Linked DNA regions of Homo sapiens: region 1 is linked to region 2. The links are contacts of gene promoters, found by promoter capture Hi-C in human tissues and cell types (Jung and others, 2019). All regions are on one chromosome and are shown on one strand. Each heading gives the region's core, a stretch centred on a gene start or on the middle of the fragment in contact. The rest is flanking DNA. Distances are from core to core; before and after follow the strand shown.

Region 1 (3,818 bases), core at 979-3,478, 49 kb before region 2:
TATAAAGTTCTGTAAGGTGAATCTTTTTTTCTTGTAGACTTCCTTTATAAATTCTCATTGGAAAAAAATTACTTCATATCATATTTTAGATAATGGGGTTATAAAGACGGTTAGCCATATAATAGGCTGGTAATTTTTGTGTGTTTGCCAGTATTATATTTGCTAACTTATTTCTTTGCCCTTGTAAATTTTTTCCTGCTCTAAGATACCCTCTCAGCTATCTCTTCTATTCATTATAGACTATAGGAATTTTTTTTATTCCCAAAGACACCTGGAATAATCGGTAGAGCTTGTACAATTTAGTTTCTAAAGTGCTAAACTACAATAGTATTTCACATATATATGTGAAAAATGGTTCACCTCTTTGTGCTGAGATGGTATATAAATACATCAGTACTATCAGTATTCCTTTTTATTTTTTCTAGTACACATTTTTTCATCCTTTCTATTTGAACAAATGAACAAAAGAGAAGTATAAAATCATAACGCATCTTAAAGCATTTGTTTCCTCAGCTTCAATTTTATGGTATAATATGTGGGTCAAATCCTGACCTGCCTTTTACACAGTGACATGCAGTGTATATAACATAAAGCCAATAAAATTAATGTTATATTTACATATAGATATGATAAGAGTGATCTATTGTGATTCAGTTGTTAACTTTTTATGCATACTGCAGGGTAGACCAATTATGACCTTTTGTACATTAAAGTTTTATTTCTGTTTTCTGGAGGGTTCTTTGTTTATACTTTGCTGTTGTTGATTTTTTATGAAGTTTAATTTAGAAATAATCCTGAAAATATTAATGACAAGTATTTTAAAATATAATAATCATTGATTCACATAGTAATTCATTTGTTTAGCTATAAAATTGAAATATGGCCTTATGTACTGGAAAAACTGAAAATTTTATGTTTTGTTTGGAAATGCTCCAGGAGTCTTATAGTTGAAATAGAATTTTAATTAGTATTTTATATTGTGGGAAAAATAAGAAAATATCTGCGTTAGGTCTGTTGTGGATTGCAAAATGGAAACAAAAAATGGTTAAGATTGTTCCTGTAAACCTGCTTCCCTTTGAAATATTTGTGTTTGGAATATACTTAGTTTTGCACTATCTCTGGGACCACTACTCACTTAGGTATATATTTGCCTTTGGGTAAATTAGAAAAGTTAGACCTCCATGGTTGGACACAGCCCCATTTATTCTGGGCATTCTGGGAACCTTCAAGCAGTATTAAAACCATACAACTGACAATTCCTTTCTAGTTTTTGTGTTAATAAATATATTTAGAATGGGATATTTTATTTTTAGGATATTATAATGCAGACAAGACACAGGCACAATATTAAAGTTTTAATATCATTGCCTTCTTTCTGATAAATGTCTGTTTACAATTTGGGATGGGGGAAATGTTTTGGTTTTTTTTCTCTTTTAAGATTGTTGGGGCTTTTATGGATTATAATGCTAATAAATACTCATTGTATAAAATTCAGTATACTATAGAAACATATTTGATGTTGCCATTATTGTTAATATGTTTGGTTTTGGTTTTTGTTTTTCAAGAATGCTACACTGCAAGCAGAGAAGCAAGCGTTGAAAACTCAACTGAAGCAACTTGAGACACAGAACAATAATTTGCAGGCTCAGATTCTTGCACTTCAGAGGCAGACAGTGTCATTACAAGAACAGAATACCACTCTTCAAACACAGAATGCCAAGCTTCAGGTTGTAATATAATATTTTGGGAATATGCAACCAAACTCTTGAATTATGCTATTAAAATAAGGGAGGGTAAACATGGAAACATTGTTTCTTAGTGAATGAACTTAAAGATAAATGAAAATATTTTTATTTAGTGCCATGCCAAATTTTCACACATCAGTTTTTAATTTTAAATATTAATAAATTCAGTCAATACATCTGAATAAAGATAAATTATATTTATGGTCTTTCTACCATTTCATTAAGTCGATTGTAAAAAATTAGGTAGAAACCCTTGCTTTAGAGTATGCTTGCAGCATACTATTCCTTATTTCATTTGTATAGCTTTTTTTTGTCAGTTTAGTTACTGAAAAGCAGGACAACATGAGAATTTTGTCTTTAGACCTCTCCTAAGTTCAAAGGATCCATCTTTCACTTAACACCGCCAGTGTCTTTTAAAACAGAACAATCAGGTGGGGAAAAGTTCAACTCTGAAAGCTCTTAAAGAGCAGAAACAAGTTCCCTCTCCGAATCAAAGAATTCTTCTTTCTGTAACCCTTTTCTTTGACACTGATTTTGATTAACATCAACACTTTGATAAAGAAAATACTTATTTAATTTGGACTCTTGAAAAATTTCTAAAAGTAATTTTTCACTTCTATCAACTTCTATCACCAAATTCTAGAAATGATAAACTAGTACTTCAAATTCTATACATTTTCATTTGTAATATAATACAAATGGTTGCTAATCACCTTCATTTAAAATAAATTCAACCCAAAACATACAATACATATATATGTCTATATATACACACATACATATGTATATATACACTTCCAAAAGTCAAAATTAAATGATAGCCTTATTCTTTGGGAAGCTAAAATCCACGTCTTCCCAGTATAATGTAAATATGTGTGCTGTGATTCATTTAGAGCTTTCTTTAATTAACATTGTAATCTTGTATTTTGAAAAAGAACATGAACTGTTTTTCTTATGTCTGATAACAATATATATTCTTATAGGTTGAAAATTCCACCCTTAATTCCCAAAGTACCTCACTCATGAACCAGAATGCCCAACTCCTAATCCAGCAGTCTTCCTTAGAAAATGAAAATGAATCTGTAATCAAAGAGCGAGAAGACCTAAAATCTCTCTATGATTCTCTGATCAAAGATCATGAAAAGCTGGAACTTCTTCATGAACGTCAGGCTTCAGAGTATGAATCTCTTATCTCTAAACATGGAACTCTGAAGTCTGCCCACAAAAATCTTGAGGTGGAACATAGAGACCTTGAAGACCGGTAATTTATTATATTTTGTTGTACTGTGAATTTAAAATGAATTTTCTTCAAGTAGTATAATAAATTTTATATATTAAACACATCTAATGTTAGTTTACATAAGAAATTTATATAAATTTACATGTGTTTTAAATGATACTCATTACTCATTTCCTTCATTTCTAAAATTTCTTTTTTGTAAATATTATAAACCAAATGCCTTTTTTCCCCCCAGTTACAATCAGTTATTAAAACAGAAAGGACAGTTGGAAGATTTGGAAAAAATGCTCAAAGTAGAACAGGAAAAAATGCTGCTTGAAAATAAAAATCATGAAACAGTAGCTGCAGAATACAAGAAACTTTGTGGTGAAAATGATAGGTAATAAATATATATTATATATAACAAACATTTTATATAGAAAGTATATACATATATATGTGTATATATATGTTTTTTCAAAATTATGTATTATTTCTTACATCCAAACTATATACTGCCCCTTTGTAGTACCAAGCATAGTTTGAATTCGGAATTTTAAAAAATAGAATAGGCTGGGTGCAGTGGCTCACACCTGTAATTCCAGCACTTTGGGAGGCCGAGGCAGGTAGATCACCTGAGTCAGGAGTTTGAGACCAGCCTGACCAACATGGTGAAACCTCGTCTCTACTAAAAATACAAAAATTAGCCAGGCTTGGTGGCGTGCACCTGTAGTCCCAGCTACTTGGGTGGGTGAGACAGGAGAATTGCTTAAACCTGAGAGGCAAAGGTTGCAGTGAGTCGAGATCGCGCCACTGCACTCCAGTCTGGGCAACAGAGTAAGACTCCATCTCCA
Region 2 (4,249 bases), core at 1,647-4,146:
GCCGGGCATGGAGGCAGACACCTGTAATCCCAGCTACTCTGGAAGCTGAGGCAGGAGAATCGCTTGAACCTGCGAGGCGGAGGTTGCAGTGGGCTGAGATCGTGCCATTGCACTCCAGCCTGGGTGACAGAGTGAGACTCCATCTCAAAAAAAAAAAAATGTCCAGGAGAGGAGTTTGCATTAAATCATTCAGTAACACCGATTACACACCTTTGTAGTAGGCATTGGGAAAGTGGGGAAAAAAAAGAGGTTGGTAGGTTGGGATGGGGGCATGAGTTAGGAGGTAAGATGATGGTGTAGCAGGATGAGCCGCAGACAAAACCTCTCAGACACCGAGTTGTAGAAGGAAGGGCTTTATTCAGCTGGGAGCATTGGCAAGCCACTGCCTTAAAATCCGAGCTCCCTGAGTGCACAATTTCTGTCCCTTTTAAGGGTTCACAACACTAAAGATTTCACATGAAAGTGTCGTGATTGATTTGAGCAAGCAAGGGGTACGTGACAGGGGCTGCATGCACCGGTGGTCAGAGACAAACAGAACAGGGCAGGGAGTTTCACAATGTTCTATACAATGTCTGGAATCTATGAATAACATCGGTTTCTAGGTTATGAGTTGATTTTTATTTTATTTATTTATTTATTTATTTATTTATTTATTTATTTATTTTGAGACGGAGTCTCGCTCTGTCACCCAGGCTGGAGTGCAGTGGCGCCATCTCGGCTCACTGCAAGCTCCGCCTCCCAGGTTCACGCCATTCTCCTGCCTCAACGTCCCAAGTAGCTGGGACTACAGGCACCCGCCACCACACCCGGCTAATTTTTTTTAATATATATTTAGTAGAGACGGGGTTTCACCGTGTTAGCCAGGGTGGTCTCGATCTCCTGACTTCGTGATCCACCCGCCTCGGCCTCCCAAAGCGCTGGGATTACAGGCGTGAGCCACTGCGCCCAGCCTGAGTTGATTTTTAACTACTGGGTTTAGGCCAGGCAGAGCCAGGCCTGGTTTTGGGCCTGGCGCCGGACTGCCTGTCTTTGATTTCACTTCTTTTTTCTCTCTTAAAACAGGTACTGAGTATAAAACAATATAAAACAATATGAGAGGGTCTCTCTCTTCCCTCAATGGCAAGTATGCTTTTGAGTAATGAACTTCTGTACCATACCAATTACCCAGGGGAGTGGTAGATCTTAAAGACAAAGATTAATTGATTGATTTTGTTTTCTTCTCAAATTCCTTTTACCAAAAGACAGAGATAATAAAACAATATTTATATTTGAGAGGTGGTGATGGTTGTGGTCAAAACGACCAGCTGAAAGTCATAATGTCCAAGCAAGATGAGGGAAAGCTCTGGGGGCAGGCAGTAATAACCATAACAGCAAACACATACTATGAACCAGGCACTACTTATCAACAGTTTATCAACCCATTAAAAGCTTATTGCAGCCGGGCGTGGTGGCTCATGCCTGTAATCCCAGCACTTTGGGAGGCTTAGGTGGGCAGTCACCTGAGGTCAGGAGTTCGAGACCAGCTTGGCCAACATGGTGAATTAGTGAGGCATGGTGATGTGCCCCTGTAATCTCAGCTACGCGGGAGGCTGAGGCGGGAGAATCACTTGAACCCAGGAAGCGGAGTTTGGTTGCAATGAGCCGAGATCGCGCCATTGTGCTCCAGCTTGGGCGACAGAGTGACACTGTCTCAAAAAAAACAAAAAACAGTCTGGGAGAGGTGGCTAACGCCTGTCATCCCAGCACTTTGGGAGGCCGATGTGGGCGGATCATCTGAAATAGGGAATTCGAGACCAGCCTGACCAACATGGAAAAACCCTGTCTCTACAAGAAACACAAAATTAGCCAGGAGTGGTGGCACATGCCTGTAATCCCAGCTACTCGGGAGGCTGAGGCAGGAGAATCGCTTGAACCCGGGAGGCAGAGGTTGCGGTGAGCTGAGATCGTGCCATTGCACTCCGGCCTGGGCAACAAGAGCGAAACTCCATCTCAAAAACAAATAGAAACAAAAACACAACAAAAACCTTATTACAATCCTGTGAACTAGCTACTGTCATTACTATAATGTAGATGAACAAACTGGGACATGGACAGTTGACAAAACATTCCCAACCACACACTAGGAATGAGCTGGGATAGGAAACCAGGCACTCTGGCTCTATTACTCCTAATGCCATACACACGAGCTGACTTAGGAGAAAACAGAAAGTACTGTTCGCACAATACTAACTGGTTCTACCGCCACTGTTCGCTTGCATTTGTTTTTTCCTTCTTGTTAGGAACACGTATCTTTGAAGGAGGTATCATTTCTCCCACAATTCTCCATTTAACGTTTCCTACAGTGTTAAGCACCACCGAGGCCTCTCATAGCCCCAGAGAAGAAGTAATTTGCTTCCTAGAAATCCTCACTGTATCCAGATTCCCTCCCAGAGGAGCCATCAGTTCTCATGGGTGGCACTTTTTCTCCAGCTGATTACACTTTTTTTCTGTACCAGTTAATTTTTCCAACTTCTAATTGAATAAAGGCAGTTTTCTTAAAAAAAAAAAAAAGAGAAAGAAAAACGGAAAGGAAGGAAGAGGAAAGGAAGGAAGAAATGAAGAAAGGAAGGAAGGAAAGAAAGGAGAGGGACAGAAAGAAAAAAAGGAAAGAGAGAAAGAAAGGAAAGGAAAGTAAGAAATGGAAGGGACCTGCAGAAACGATTCACCACGCGCGGCTGACCCTGGGAGGAGCCACAGGTTGAACCAGCGCCTCCCAGGCTGGACGCCCGCCGCGGACACCGCAGACAGTCCCACCCCCAGCGGCGACAGCAACTCTCTGAATTCCGGAAAGAACCTTTTCCAGCGGGACCGGAAGCCCGGCGGGGACCGTAGCGGGGACGGACTGACCTACCGACCATTCTTCCGGGTCCAGAAGGTGATCTCCGCCCGTGCTCAGAATCCAGGGGCCCGGGGCTGTAGGTAGGAGTTAAGTGGGTAGGATCCCTTAACCAGGGTTGTCCGGTGCAGGTGGTGTGTGTTGTTTCGCCTAACGTGTCAGTGGCACAAATCACGCGAACTTCATAAACATTGTGCGTTCGGAAGCCTTTCCAAGATGCATTTAATCCCTGCGTGAGCCCACGTTAGGCATTCACGAAGGCATGTGCACTGTTCTCTCGGAAGCGGCTGGCCGGCTTCCCCTCCTCGCGCGCGGCTGTGGGTGCAGGTCCTCACTTCCCAGCCTCCCATGGGCCCAAGGCCTTCTGGGCTCCAATTTGAGGCGAGCCACCCCAGATCCGTAATTTTTCTGCAGTGATTTATTTTTACCTTTCTGGTAAGTTCCAAAGCTTCCAGCTCACATTCAGACGTTTTCCCTAACGCAACTACGTATTTGCAACATACTTTTTTCAGATTCCTTGACAAGGATATCCTAGCGGCGAAACAACACCGTACTGGGAGTCAGAACGTCTGGGTTCTAGTCTTGACTGCCATTAACTAGCGGTATGACATTGGAGAAGCTTTTTTGACCCTTCTGGATTTCCGTTTCCTTTTCTGTAAAATGAGGAGCTTGGAGTAAGTGACAAGTTTCCTTCCAGTTTTGACATTTGGGTTATTGCCTCCAATGTGTCTTTCCAGTTCCTGCCTCAATTACATATCTGTGCTTTGGTTAATATCTCGTAGGGTCCTTCCTCCCACTCCATTAATCTGTGCTCTTCTCAAATCTGGTTTCATACTGATTTAAAAATTATTTTCTCAAGGAATCCTGTGTTACCTGAGCACTCTACTTCTTGGTCCAGGGGCACAAACGTAAATAAGATATTTTCCATGTGCCATTCTTAGAAGTATTTAATGTGTGTAAATACTATTGAATGAATTTCCAAATCTTCTTTTTTTTTTCTTTAGACAGAGTCTCACTGTCGCCCAGGCTGGAGTGCAGTGGCCTGATCTCGGCTCACTGCAGTCTCTGCCTCCTGGGTTCAAGCGATTCTCCTGCCTCAGCCTCCCAAGTCGCTGGGATTACAGGCGCCCGCCACCGTACCCGGCTAATTTTTGTACTTTTAGTAGAGAGGGGGTTTCACCATGTTGGCCAGGCTGGTCTCGAACTCCTGACCTCAGGTGATCCGCCCGCCTCGACCTCCCAAAGTGCTAGGATTACAGGCATGAGCCATCACGCCCAGCCTGAATTTCTAAATCTTAATGTGTTTATTTCGTTGGCATTAAGTTAGATTTTTCCTTGATCTTTACTCGAATAAGCCTTTTAAGGTAAAATGCT

What was found. The method cuts DNA at HindIII sites, captures the fragments that hold promoters and counts their contacts. A contact is called where the count stands out against the background at its distance.
Region 1: a fragment that was not itself captured here is called in contact with the fragment with the promoter of MTIF2 in region 2 in 1 of the 25 tissues and cell types used here (bladder).

Annotation. Positions count from the first base shown.
Region 1 is chr2:55,316,752-55,320,569 of GRCh38, reverse strand. It overlaps CCDC88A (coiled-coil domain containing 88A), which reads left to right. Exons shown (of 33, transcript NM_001365480.1): 19 at 1,566-1,727; 20 at 2,729-3,006; 21 at 3,221-3,364. The region is part of intron 2 of LOC124907768 (a long non-coding RNA gene); the gene reads right to left. Among named protein-coding and RNA genes, the nearest start is that of MTIF2, 49 kb to the right of the region's middle. The HindIII fragment of the contact is 6,665 bases long and covers 1-3,818 here.
Region 2 is chr2:55,267,878-55,272,126 of GRCh38, reverse strand. MTIF2 (mitochondrial translational initiation factor 2) reads left to right here and starts at 2,896. Exons shown (of 16, transcript NM_002453.3): 1 at 2,896-2,958; 2 at 3,388-3,549. RefSeq lists enhancers at 2,035-2,858, 2,804-2,953. The HindIII fragment of the contact is 5,929 bases long and covers 1-3,922 here.